3 separate regions of the Homo sapiens genome follow, and regions 2 and 3 are each linked to region 1. The links are contacts of gene promoters, found by promoter capture Hi-C in blood cells and fetal thymus (Javierre and others, 2016). All regions are on one chromosome and are shown on one strand. The core of a region is centred on a gene start or on the middle of the fragment in contact, and the rest is flanking DNA. Distances in the headings are between cores, read along the strand shown. Region 1 holds the start of CD59 (CD59 molecule (CD59 blood group)). Region 2 overlaps HIPK3 (homeodomain interacting protein kinase 3). Region 3 overlaps KIAA1549L (KIAA1549 like).

Evidence for each region. The method cuts DNA at HindIII sites, captures the fragments that hold promoters and counts their contacts. A CHiCAGO score of 5 or more calls a contact.
Region 2: a contact is called between a fragment that was not itself captured here and the fragment with the promoter of CD59 in region 1, in 3 of 17 cell types (M0 macrophages, total B cells and monocytes). The highest score is 6.8, in M0 macrophages.
Region 3: a contact is called between a fragment that was not itself captured here and the fragment with the promoter of CD59 in region 1, in 2 of 17 cell types (total B cells and naive B cells). The highest score is 6.5, in total B cells.

The regions. Positions count from the first base shown.
Region 1 is chr11:33,734,306-33,738,371 of GRCh38, reverse strand. CD59 (CD59 molecule (CD59 blood group)) reads left to right here and starts at 1,949. Exons shown (of 4, transcript NM_000611.6): 1 at 1,949-1,990. RefSeq lists a silencer at 1,831-2,300. The HindIII fragment of the contact is 13,854 bases long and covers 1,406-4,066 here.
Region 2 is chr11:33,335,457-33,339,522 of GRCh38, reverse strand. HIPK3 (homeodomain interacting protein kinase 3) reads right to left here. Exons shown (of 17, transcript NM_005734.5): 4 at 2,329-2,448; 5 at 680-766; 6 at 1-173. Among named protein-coding and RNA genes, the nearest start is that of KIAA1549L, 39 kb to the left of the region's middle. The HindIII fragment of the contact is 6,169 bases long and covers 1-4,066 here.
Region 3 is chr11:33,388,679-33,392,744 of GRCh38, reverse strand. The region is part of intron 1 of KIAA1549L (KIAA1549 like); the gene reads right to left. Among named protein-coding and RNA genes, the nearest start is that of KIAA1549L, 15 kb to the right of the region's middle. The HindIII fragment of the contact is 207 bases long and covers 1,789-1,995 here.

The DNA of each region.
Region 1 (4,066 bases), core at 700-3,199:
AAGGTAAAAGAGTAGATACACTATAGTCTCCCAGGGAGCACACACAGCCATGGTTCTCAGTCTAATCCTGGGACACCAAATTATTAGTGGGTAAAGGAAAAGAATCTCAAGACCGAATGGTCAAGAAACCATTCTAGGGAACCAAACTAGGAGAGAGTGGCATCTCAGAAGCCAAGCGTGTCAAGGAAGGAATAGCTAACAGGATGTGTGTAAGGTATGTACACAAAAGAGCTTTGGAATCCATCTTGGGAAATATACAGTATTAGCTGTTTTAAGGAGACATGCTTTAAATATCAAAGCAAGTCATCCTGATTTAAAAAACTCCCACTTGTATAGAGGAATACCAGGATTTGAGCACCACCAAATGGAACTCATTCCCTGACATCCCAAAGCCATCAGAATAACAGTAGAAGCGTCAAGACAGTTACTATATGATTTTCCCTGCAAGACATTCAGTAATCTATGATTCCCCCTGCTTAAATTTTATCTCATGCCTTCTTCCCTGACCAGTTCAACACAAGCAGCCCTGAGATGTAATATCTTCTCACCCTGACCCTCAAAGTGTGTCTCATGCTTTCTAACAGAGGCCATCCTCTTGGAGGAAGACTTGTACTTTTGGCCTGTAGCCCCACCCTCCCTCCTATGGCGTTCTTACAGTCAGTTCTGCAGTGAGTGGGACACTTTCCAAATATAATAGCAAATGGAAACTTCTAATTACATCTGCACATAAAACTAATGTTCCAAATGGTGGTTGCGGTTCTGGTGAGTGCTTATAATTTTTTGTTACCTCAGCATCCATTTTTGAATATGTTTAACTTTTAATAACAGAAGCAAGTCTCAGTCACCATTGACAGTTTCCAGTACTATACCCCACGCAAATGGCTCTAGCTGGTGGCCAGAGATAAACATGCAGTGATGTGATAACAGGGCACTACTGCAGCTTCAAACTCTGGTTCAAGTTCCTCCCACCTCTGCCTTTTCACCTGCTTGCTTTTAAATCCACCAGTTAGAGCTCTCCAGAGGAAACCTAACTGGATAAAGTTGCTGGCCCAAAGGTCCGTTCCTCCCTTCCCTCTCCCTGTTCTCCCTGATCTCCGTGTGTGTGTGTGTGTGTGTGTGTGTGTGTGTGTGTGTGTCCTCTAGGCAAGCTGTGTACCACCCAGGGTCCGTAAGTACTAAAAACTCTTAAACTTTCACACCGCTGTGTTATTGAAACCATGCCTACAATCCAGTCCCTGAGGCGAGGCCACCCTGAAGGGACAGACTCATGCAGGCGGATCCCCTGGTCTTGCTCTTCTGTCCCTGCCTCTGGTGGCTGCTGGGGAACAGTAGCTACCAGCTAAGTTGATAGAGACACTCGAAGAGGTTCATTCAAAACACTGGTCCCCGAGCAGCCCAGTAAGCTTTTAAACGCATAACATTTTGTTTGGGTCTCAAACAAGTCACAAGGCACGGATACGGATGCGGCTGTGGCTGATGGCTATTTGGATGCTGCCCAAGCCTCGCAGTAGGAAGCAGCTTCAGACTGCAGCAGGGCCGCATAGCCCGATAGCCAGGCCCTGGGGCACCCAGGGCACCAGCAAGACGCACAGAAACGTTTTGAAAAACATTTTAATATACTTAAAAAAAAAGTAAAAGGGAAAATCAGAAGTCTTTGGAAGTTTCCTACTGTTTTTATGTCCCATAGCAAATCCGAGGAGGACGCCCCAAACTTTCAGTTCCCTGGGGTTTTGAAGGTGCTCATTGGGTCCTGGCCACCCGGCCTTCTCAGAACCTGGGCCAGGAGGCTGAGCTCCGCGCGGGGGTGGAGGGAGAGGAGGAGGTTCCTGCCGAGGTGCGGCTGCGCGGTGCGGGAGCCGGGAGCCTGGGAGGGCAAGGGCATCCTGAGGGGCGGGGCCGGGGGGCGGAGCCTTGCGGGCTGGAGCGAAAGAATGCGGGGGCTGAGCGCAGAAGCGGCTCGAGGCTGGAAGAGGATCTTGGGCGCCGCCAGGTAAGAAGGCCCGAAGGCCTGCTGGGGTTTGGGTGAGCCGAGCCGAGGTGGCGGCGGCAGTCTGGGCCCGGGCGGAGGGTCTGTGGGGGCTACCCCCGTCCTCGCTTTCCACTCGACCCCTGCCGGGCGAGCCTCCCGAGGCCTGGCCCTTCCAACCCGTCACCGCGGCCCGGTGTCCTAGCCGAACGCTGGCTTCATTTTATCTACGAGGAAGGAGAAACGGGGAGCGCGCCCTCTCCCAGAAGCAGCCCCGTTACCCCCGTCGCGCCCCCCATTCCCTCGGGGGCAGCCTCGCACCCGGGCCCCTGCCATCGCTTTCGTCTCAAGGGAAGCTCTAGCGGTCCAGAGAAACTGCGCCGGGGGAAAGGCCAGCCCTCCGTGGTCACGGCAGTTCCTCTCTCCCCTCGCGGTCTAAATGTGTAATTTTGAAAAGCAGGTGTCGGGCGAAACGGACTTTTTTTTTTTTTTGAGATGGAGTTTCGCTGTTGCCCAGGCTGGAGTGCAGTGGCGCGATCTGGGTTCACCGCAACCTCCGTGTACCGGGTTCAAGCGATTCTCCTGCCACAGCCTCCTGAGTAGCTGGGATTACAGGCATGCGCCACCATGCCTGGCTAAATTTTGTATTTTTAGTAGAAACGGGGTTTTCCCATGTTGGTCAGGCTGATCTTGAATTCCTGACCTCGTGATCCGCCCGCCTCCGCCTCCCAAAGTGTTGGGATTACAGGTGTGAGCCACCGCGCCCGGCCGAAACGGACGTTTTAAGTACAACGTGATGTTTTGTTTTCTTGGGTCGGCTCGGGCCGCACCCTTCTTAGAGTCTGACTGCTGACTTTTCAAAAAACAACATTAACCCGGGAGGCTGAGGTAGCGGTGAGCCGAGATCGCGCCATTGCCCTACTGCCTGGGCAATAAGAGCGAGACTCCGCCTCAAAAACGAACAAAACCCACAAAGAACAAACAAAAAAAACCAACATTAAGCAGTGTGCCTTTTATGGCCGTTTAGTGATACCCAGGCTCTTCACTGGTCATTTCTGGAAGTATTTAACAGCACTTGATGGGTAAAACAATAGGCTTCACTTCACAGGGTGGTTGAGATGATTGACGGAAAGCGCTCAGCACAAACGCGGCGGCTGCTAATTATTTCAGGTACCCTGCGATCCCTGAGCAGTTGTTCAAGTTCTCCACTCCTGGCGGTTTACTCCCAGTTCCCTGAAGAAGGCACAGAGCCCCGAATGTTGAGGGAGATGGCAACGTTTGCCAAAATGTGGCTATTTACGTGGCAGTTTATGAAGGAGAGGCAGAAAGGGAGGCTGCCTCCCCTACAAGCCAAACAGTCCTAAAACTTGTGGCCTCTGTATTTTCACAGTGGAAACTAGAAACTGTTTGCTGAACTTAGCTGTAAGAAAAACATCCCATTAGCTGAGTGGCTTAGGAGATAAAAGCCTAAATAAAATGGATCTTAGGGTGAGAGAGTGGGGTGCCTAATGGCATTCATCTTTGACAGCTGCTGGTAGAAGCTCTTGAAAAGTAGAGCATGGAAAATTCTGGGCCACCTCTTTAAGAACCTCAGCCAAACCGCCACAGACATTGCCAAGCCCAGAAGTGCTTGAGGCTTTCTAAAGGCAAAGACTTCTTTTTACTTATGTCCTATATCTTAGGAAACATATTCACTAAACCTTGGTTTTGCATGTGTACTTAACACGGGAGGGGCCGTGAGTGCGGAGATAGGACTCTTTGGAGAGTTAGGGATTGGCATTCCGGAACAAACTGCAGGAAAGGCCCTTGTAGGGGAAGCTGCAGATTTGTTTGGTCCAAAGAGTTCTGGCCTAATAAGTGGGAGCTGACCAATGAGAACACTTGGACACAGGGAGGGGAACAACACACACTGGCGCCTGTCGGCAGGTGGGGTGGGTGGGGATAGAGCATTAGGAAAAACAGCTAATGCATGCTGGGCTTAATACCTAGGTGATGGGTTGATAGGTGCAGCAAACCACCATGGTACACGTTTACCTATGAAACAAATCTGCACATCCTGCACATGTACCCTAGAATTTATATGTATATCACACAAAGAGT
Region 2 (4,066 bases), core at 436-2,935, 400 kb after region 1:
GGGAAATCTAGAAGATGTTTCATATTAACAAAAGGATGGTTCAGGGTCTCAGCTGGAGTAATTCTTAAATCTGCATCAATCAGCAACATTTTCTTCAACAGACTAACAAATTCTCTTCTATCAGCTTTCTCAGCCAAAAGATCACTTCCTTCCAAATCCATCACTGTGTTCACCTAAGAAAATCAAAATTTCAAGCCATCAAGTAAAAATAAGTCACAGAGAGTAGTATAAATTCCACCGTTAAAAAATAAAACAAAAATCACAACACAGGAGAGGAGAGGGAACTACAATTATCTTAAAACAAAGAAGAACAAATAATATTAACAAATCCTCAAAATGTGTTGAGGTACCAAATAGGATTCAAAGCATAAAAGAAGTTTTTAAAAATTAAACAAATATCCATTTCTAATGAAATATAGGGAAATCTGTTGGCTAGGATTTTTCCTTTCAAAGCAAAAACTTTTTTACTAAAGAACGAATAGGTAAATTAAAATTTTGATAACGACAAATGCAATTTAGTTCCTGAAAGGTTGAAAATAGAATCAGTTTCATTTGAAAAACTTAAAAACAGCATGGACTCTGTAGCCATTTAAAAACTGAGTAACATGTTTTGGGCCCCTTGGCATTCAAGTCTACCATCTAAGCATGTAAGATGAACAAATGTGGCTATGGTACTCACATGCGCTACATCATCCAGACTGTTGAAAATGTATTTTCTGGCTTCTTTAGACTTCATTCCTGTCTCTGCCTCATGCTCTTCCAATGTCTTATTGCATATATCAAAGGGAAAAAAGAATACATTATTACAAATTTCTTTAATCCTGGCACATTTAGTCTAATATATTAAATATTCTAAGGCAAATAGTAATTTCAAAAGAGACACTATCAAAAATGTATTTTTTAAAGTATACGCAAAAAAAAAATGAGAAGTGCTTGGTTTAGGCCAAGAAAAATATTACAAATGTAACAAACCCCATAAAGAAAATAACTAGGCCGGGCACGGCGGCTCACGCTTGTAATCCCAGCACTTTGGGAGGCCAAGGCGGGTGGATCACGAGGTCAAGAGATCGAGACCATCCTGGTCAACATGGTGAAACCCCGTCTCTACTAAAAATACAAAAATCAGCTGCGTGTGGTGGCGCATGCCTGTAGTCCCAGCTACTTGGGAGGCTGAGGCAGGAGAATCACTTGAACCTGGGAGGCGGAGGTTGCAGTGAACCAAGATCGCGCCACTGCACTCCAGCCTTGCAACAGAGTAAGACTCTGTCTCAAAAAATACAATAATAATAATAACTGTTTATGAAGTTAATTATTGAGGATTTACTGATTCCTCCAAAGATCCTAGCACACTTGGGATATGTAGTAAGTGGTTAGATTCATTCCCTGTCCTATAAAGTGTAATAATGTAGAACTGAGAAGATAAACACACAACACAAATGTAGTTATACACATAAAAGTTTTTTTAATTTAAGATGAATTAATAATTATGTTGCTGAATTAGAGAGTTAGTGAAGTTATTCCAAGAGGGCTTTCTTCTTAAAGAAGGAAGGGGGCTGGGCACAGTGGCTCACACCTGTAATCCCAGCACTTTGGGAGGCCAAGGCAGGCGGATCACAAGGTCAGGAGTTCAAGACCAGCCTGGCCAACATGGTGAAACCCTGTCTCTACTAAAAATACAAAAATTAGCCAGGCATGGTGGCAGGCACCTGTAATCCCAGCTACTTGGGAGGCTAAGGCAGGAGAATCGCTTGAACCTGGGAGGTGGAGGTTGCAGTGAGCCGAGATTACACCACTGCGCTCCAGCCTGGGCAAGAGAGCAAGACTTTGTCTCAAAAAAAGAAAAAGAGAAAGAGAGAGAGAAGGACGGGGCCAGGCATGGTGGATCACGCCTGTAATCCTAGCACGTTGGGAGGCGGAGGTGGGCAGTTCTCTTGAGGTCAGGAGTTCAAGACCAGCCTGGCCAACATGGTGAAACCCTGCCTCTACCAAAAATATAAAAATTAGCCGGGCATGGTGGTGCAAGCCTGTAGTCCCAGCTACTTGGGAGGCTGAGGCAGGCGAATTGGTTGAACCCAGGAGGCGGAGGTTGCAGTGAGCCAAGATGGCGCCACTGCACTCCAGCCTGGGCGAGAGAGAGAAACTCCATCTCAAAAAATAAAAACTAAAAAAATTGAAAAAAATAAAATAAAATAAAGAAGGGCCAAAAATGAAAATTCAAAAAAAGGAAGAAATATAGTAAAATGTAAATAGACATGGAAGGTATTATCCATGCATATGAGGCATCTTAGAAAACTAGTCTTCTAAATATTCTATTTTTTAATGAATTACCTTTAATCTCCAACCAGAATGAGACATATCTGTTTCTTTGCAAAAAAATCTTGTGGATTTAGTACCCACATTTAACAACTGTTCTCCTGGCAAACCTTGAGTCTGAGAAATGTATCGAATCTGAAAAATAATTTACAGAACAGAATAGTTTATTCTTTCATGTGACAGAACACTTAAGTCAGACACTAGGCTATATGTTAGGTCAGGTATGAAAATACATAGTCTATGCCCTCAAGAAATGCACTGTCTAGTGGAGAACATATATGGAAAAAATTATAATGTGGAATTATAAGTATCATAATAAATGCACGCTTGATAGAAAAGGCATACCTAAAGTAATTGTGGTCAGGTAAAATTCTAGAAGAGGTGGTCCTCAAGTTTGGTGTTAAAGGACAAATAGGAGTTTGCACTGAAAGAGTGGGGAGAAAAACTATGCCAAGGTTATAGTATGTGTAAATATAGAAAATCAAGAGAGAATAACCTCACATTCAAAGACTGGAAGTACAGAGGGTCACTAACAGAGAATGGTAAGAGATGAAATTGAACTAGCAGGTAAAGGGCTTTATCAGCAAATTAAGAAATTTGGATTATATGCCAGGAGGTAATAATGGGAAACCACTGGAAAAATTTCAGCAAGAAATTGACAGCTTACATTTTAAAGAAATGTCTGACAATGGGTGAAGGGATAAGGCCAGAGAAGAGATGAAGAGGGTCTGAACTGAGAGACTGAATGGGAATAGAGAGGAAGGAATGGATTCAAAAGAGATTTAGATTGATAAACACTGGGTGAATTACTATGGTGGGAGTTTGGAGGAAACACTTTTTTGAGACACTGATATATACACAGCTGTGTCTCTTGGGGAAGAGGCATGGTAGTTGATGGGCTCTCCCAAGGGTGATACTAAAAAACTCCAGCTTCAGGGCTTCTGAACTTAATATTTCTGTTTGAAACATTCTTCCCCTAGATATCTGTATGGCTCTCTTGCTTCCTTCAGCTCTTGGTTCAAATGTTGCCTTATTGACCAGGCCTTCCATGACCCATCAATAAATAACGGCAAACTCTGCCCTTCTCAGTAACTCACCCACCATCCTCCTGGCTATATTTTTCTCCACTGCGCTTTTCATTATCTAATATTCTATGCATTTACTTTCCATTTTCTTACCTCTCCATGAGACTCTAAGTTCCATGAACGGAAGAATTTTTTTGTTTACTTATATACCCCCAGAGCCCATGAAAGTGCATGGTACACAGTAGGCCCTGAAATATTGATTCCCCCACTTAATGAGTGGGAAACACGGGGGATAAACAGGGGCTTAGCAAAGAGAGAGATCTCTGGGGGCTAAAATTGTTTTTCCATCCTTCCTTCTTACTAAAACTTGACTCCCCTAACCTGTATTTGAGAATAAGTGCAAAGATGTTTTTTTAACCTCAAAGACTCTGCTCCATCAATTAGTCCATCCTCTTCTGCATCTTCTATTTCTTCCTCCCTCTGAGCTCTCTCCCCACCAAATACAAAAATGTTCAATATCTTCTATCCTAAAAAAAAAAAGTAAACCTCCCTTAACTACTTAACTCTCTCGTCTTACCCTTAAAATAGTAGCCTATATTATTTCACTTCCCATTCACACCTCAACACACTGCAATCTGAATTTTAGTCTCATCACCCTCATGATATGGTATTAAGATAAGTAATGGCCTGTTAGTAACAGACATGTTTAATAATCACATATAAATCCT
Region 3 (4,066 bases), core at 643-3,142, 350 kb after region 1:
GAACAAAGAAAACTGGCAATCTGGTTGTTTTTTAACTGCGTGATATAAAAACTAAACTATGGTGAAAAACAAAATCAAACCATGGTTGCTTGGATTGGGTGGGGCGAGTGAGAAGAGATGGGAATGTCTGCAGAAGGGCAAAAGAAAACTTACTTTTTGGGGTCATGGTCACATGCTATATCTTGACAGGGATTTGGGATACACAGGTGTATACATTTGTAAAAACTCAAGAAAATGTACTCAAGAGTTTTGTATTTCATTGTATGTAAAATTTACCTCAGAAAAAGAGTCATAAACAAATACTGAACCCTAATCAATGACATGTATGCGAAAGTATTTAGGGGTGACATGTACTGATGTCTGCAACTTACTCTGAATACATCAAAAATAAGATGAATTGATGGATAGTGGGACAGACAGATATATGATAAAGCAAAATGTTAATTGCACCATTTAGATGGTAGATATAGGGGTGTTTACTATATTGTTCTTTCTACTTTTCCGTGTGTTTGACAACTTCATAAAATGTTGGGTGGGCAGGGAAGGACTGCACTGTATAACTGATAATATATTTACATTGTAATCAGATCTAGTTTCAAATCCCAGCTCCACTACTTACAAGCAATGTGCCCTTAGGCCAGTTGGTTTTTACATGTTCTCTCAATCTCAACTTCCTCCAAGCAAAATGGGCAAGAACTATCTGACAGTGTCATCGTCATGGGGACTCAATAAGATTAAACCCTTGATCCAGTGACTAACACAATAATAGCTGTCTCATAAATGTTAGTCTTCTTATTCAGAAGTCTACATATTCACAAACTAGGACAAATCTTCAATAAAATGTGAAAGAAGAATCTTGTAAAAATTTTTCTCTTGCTATGCCCCATGGGAAATTAAAAGAATAAATTAATTGTGCTATTTTTATAGGTAAAGACACTGACCTTCCATCAGTAGGACACTGGGAGTTCCATGTCTAAGGAGGGTGAGAGATCCACACTGTTGACACTTCCTCCCTGCATCTCCCAGTGACCAACACGACCCGTTGTGAGAGCTGGCCAAGGTTAGCAACATCATCACATCAGGAGGAAAGATGGGGAATGTCGGCAGCATCTTAAGCAGCACACTGAAGCCAAGACTCCCAGTCTCCTTCTCAGATGTGCAAATGAAAAGAGCCAATCAGACAGGCCTTGAGATCTGTTAAAGCACCAGACACGCCGTCGGAAGTGGCAGTCACATGACTGTCTTGGCTTTTAGCATAATTACATGAACTGAGAGATGGCCTTATGATCATAAATAAAAGCCTCCAATTGAGACTAATAATGTGTATCCAACTAAAAGACATCTACTAGGGTACCACGTGGACTCCGCATCCCTAGGTTTGAAACATGATGACATGATGACAGCAAAGGAGGAGGAGCTGCTGACATCTGGAAGCAAAGAAAAATTTCACCTTTCCGTGCCAGAAAACCAAACCAATGCTCATTCAAGAAAATTAGGTCTGACGTCTTAAATTCAGTGAAAGGGTTAATTATATGTCACAAGTGAGACACCATAATCAAAGGAAATTGCAATTTTTTATAAAGCATCGCTGAGTGCCTACTAGGTTGTACCATTGGGACTATACACAGTATTTGAAGCTGTTTTAGACCACGCAGCAAATCTGACTCCCATCCTCTCTACCTTGAAATCTTATTCCCTTTTACATAATTACAAATGCAACTAGTTGACTGGCCTGTGAAGCCTAGGTTTCAAAGTCCTTGGAGACATCGTGCACCTACTGTGGAAGCTTCCCTTCCTCTAGCCCATATATGGATAGGAGCATTGGTGTGCCAGGGCCAGGTCACATCAGAGCTGAGCCAGTTGAGGCATCACTTCCCAACTCCATTATCATGTTAGTAGCTTGAAATCAGCCATGGTGGGAGTATTTATACAAGGAAAATTGGCCAACACTATCAAGCAGGCCACCTGTCATTGTTATCTTCCATAGAACAAGCTTACCAACATGTGAAGTTGTCTTTTACTGCTACGAAGGAGGAGACAAATGTTCAGAAGTTTGCCCTCCAAACTGACATTTAAAACTGACCTCTACCAAGGCCATGGTGAAAGGGGGATCAGGCTAAGAAGGCATTTTTATACCATGTGCCCCTTCTCCTCTGGCCTCTGCTGAATGGATGAGAGGTAGTTTCCCTAATTCCATTGGCCAGATTGCAGCAGCTTGATTCTCCCTCATGGGAATGTGGAACTGGGGCAGAGTCTTGATGGTGGGCGTTTAAACTAAAGAGGCTTGCCCACTCTGGCTGCAGTGAGCACCACAGCAAGTGAAAAGCCCCGTGCAAGGTTTATTGTCAGGGGAACCAAGAAGCTATGGGGAAGCAGAAAAAGCCAGTCTCCAGAAAGAGGCAGAAGGATGAACTGGGCCATAGGAAGAAGAGGCACTGGGCCCAGGAGATGCACAGCCAGTAACCTTAGCCTCTTAATATCCTGGAGGGCAATATCATGAAGCAGAGTGTGGGCTCTGGAATCGAACTGCCTGGGTTCCAATCTCTACTCTGCCAGTTAACTGGGAGACACTGAACCAGTTACTGTTAAGTTATTCTGTGCCTCAGTTCTCTCTTCTGAAACATGGGGATAATTGCAGAACCTACTTCATAGGGTTGGTATGAGAATCAAATGAACTGATACAAACAGTAAATGCTCAAAAGTATTAGCTGTTATTTCTATCAATTAATTATAGCATCCACGTGGCCTGGTTATATTTCATTCCTATTACGAATATGTCACCTGGGATTCCCCCATGGCCTGAGGCCCCATACTGGAGCTAGTTTTAGTTGTGTAGCTAGGTGATCTGTCCCCTGAATCACAGAATAATGTGCAAATCCCTGGACCAATGTGTGACCTTTAGCAAATCACTTTCTCAACCCTCTCTTAGAGTAGTGTGAGATTCAAATAGGAAAAGAAACTGAAAGCTTCGACAACCGTGAACTGTTGTACCAAACTCTGGAGACTGTTGTCTCTGCAGGGAAAAGAAAAGATATTACATTGGTCACAAGAATGGAAAACACTTGTTTAAAATGTGTTTATTGCTGGACTAGAGACTAGAGAAATATTCCCCATCCAACTGGAAAAAAAGGTTCAGTTTCCGTAGGGTTCACCAGCTTGATTCATACGTTCATCTCCAGTATTAATAAGATAATAACAGGAAACTGCCAAAGACAGTTCTAGGATGCTGATTTTTTAATACACTTTCACCCAGCTTAATTATGTTCAAAATAATGCTCCAAAGACTGATCCTCCCATTCTTTTCAAAACAAAGACTTCTTAACGGACAATGAAGGATACAAATCTAGAGATATTTTTATTCATCCCTTTTCAACAAGAACTTATAAGCCACACTGTCAATTTCAACACATTTTCTTCTCACACTTCCCATTTTTCTTCAGCCTTCTTGGGTTTGCTGTTGACACCTGGTAAATAAAAAGGCAAGTGACAGGGGAACGGCATTCATTACTAGGGACAGAGGTAGGCAGACAGGTCTGGGAGTCCCAGTTTCATTCTAGATACTTCATTCCATATTTCATGTGGAAAGACTGAAGTTAGAAGTATTCTAGGCTTCCCCATTTACTTGAACTGCATAAATACCAAAACCATTTTGTGTGTCTGACGTCAGGAGATTTTATTTCTAGCTAAGAATAGATTTAACATATATAAATCTCAATCTAAATCGAATTCACCTCTTGTGGTTAGGACACTTGGGCAAAGCCACGTCTGAGTGAACAGGAGGCAGGTGCAGCAGCGACCTTGGCCTATGTTGAGGAAGCTACTTGGCCTTATTTATATCTAGGATTGGTTATAACATGAATTTATCCCCATTCTATGTGGTGTTTAAAAGGGCCCATGATTTTTCTTAAATGTCTGCAGAAGTATCGTCTAGAGAAGGAAGCCAGGGAGTAAAGGAAAATGGGCAGAACCGTCTAAGGAGATATTTTAACTCTAGGTTTGAATCTGACCTGTGTTGTTAAAGCTATTTATTCTCTTTTATAATAAAAGGTCTTTCCCTGTTTCTAAC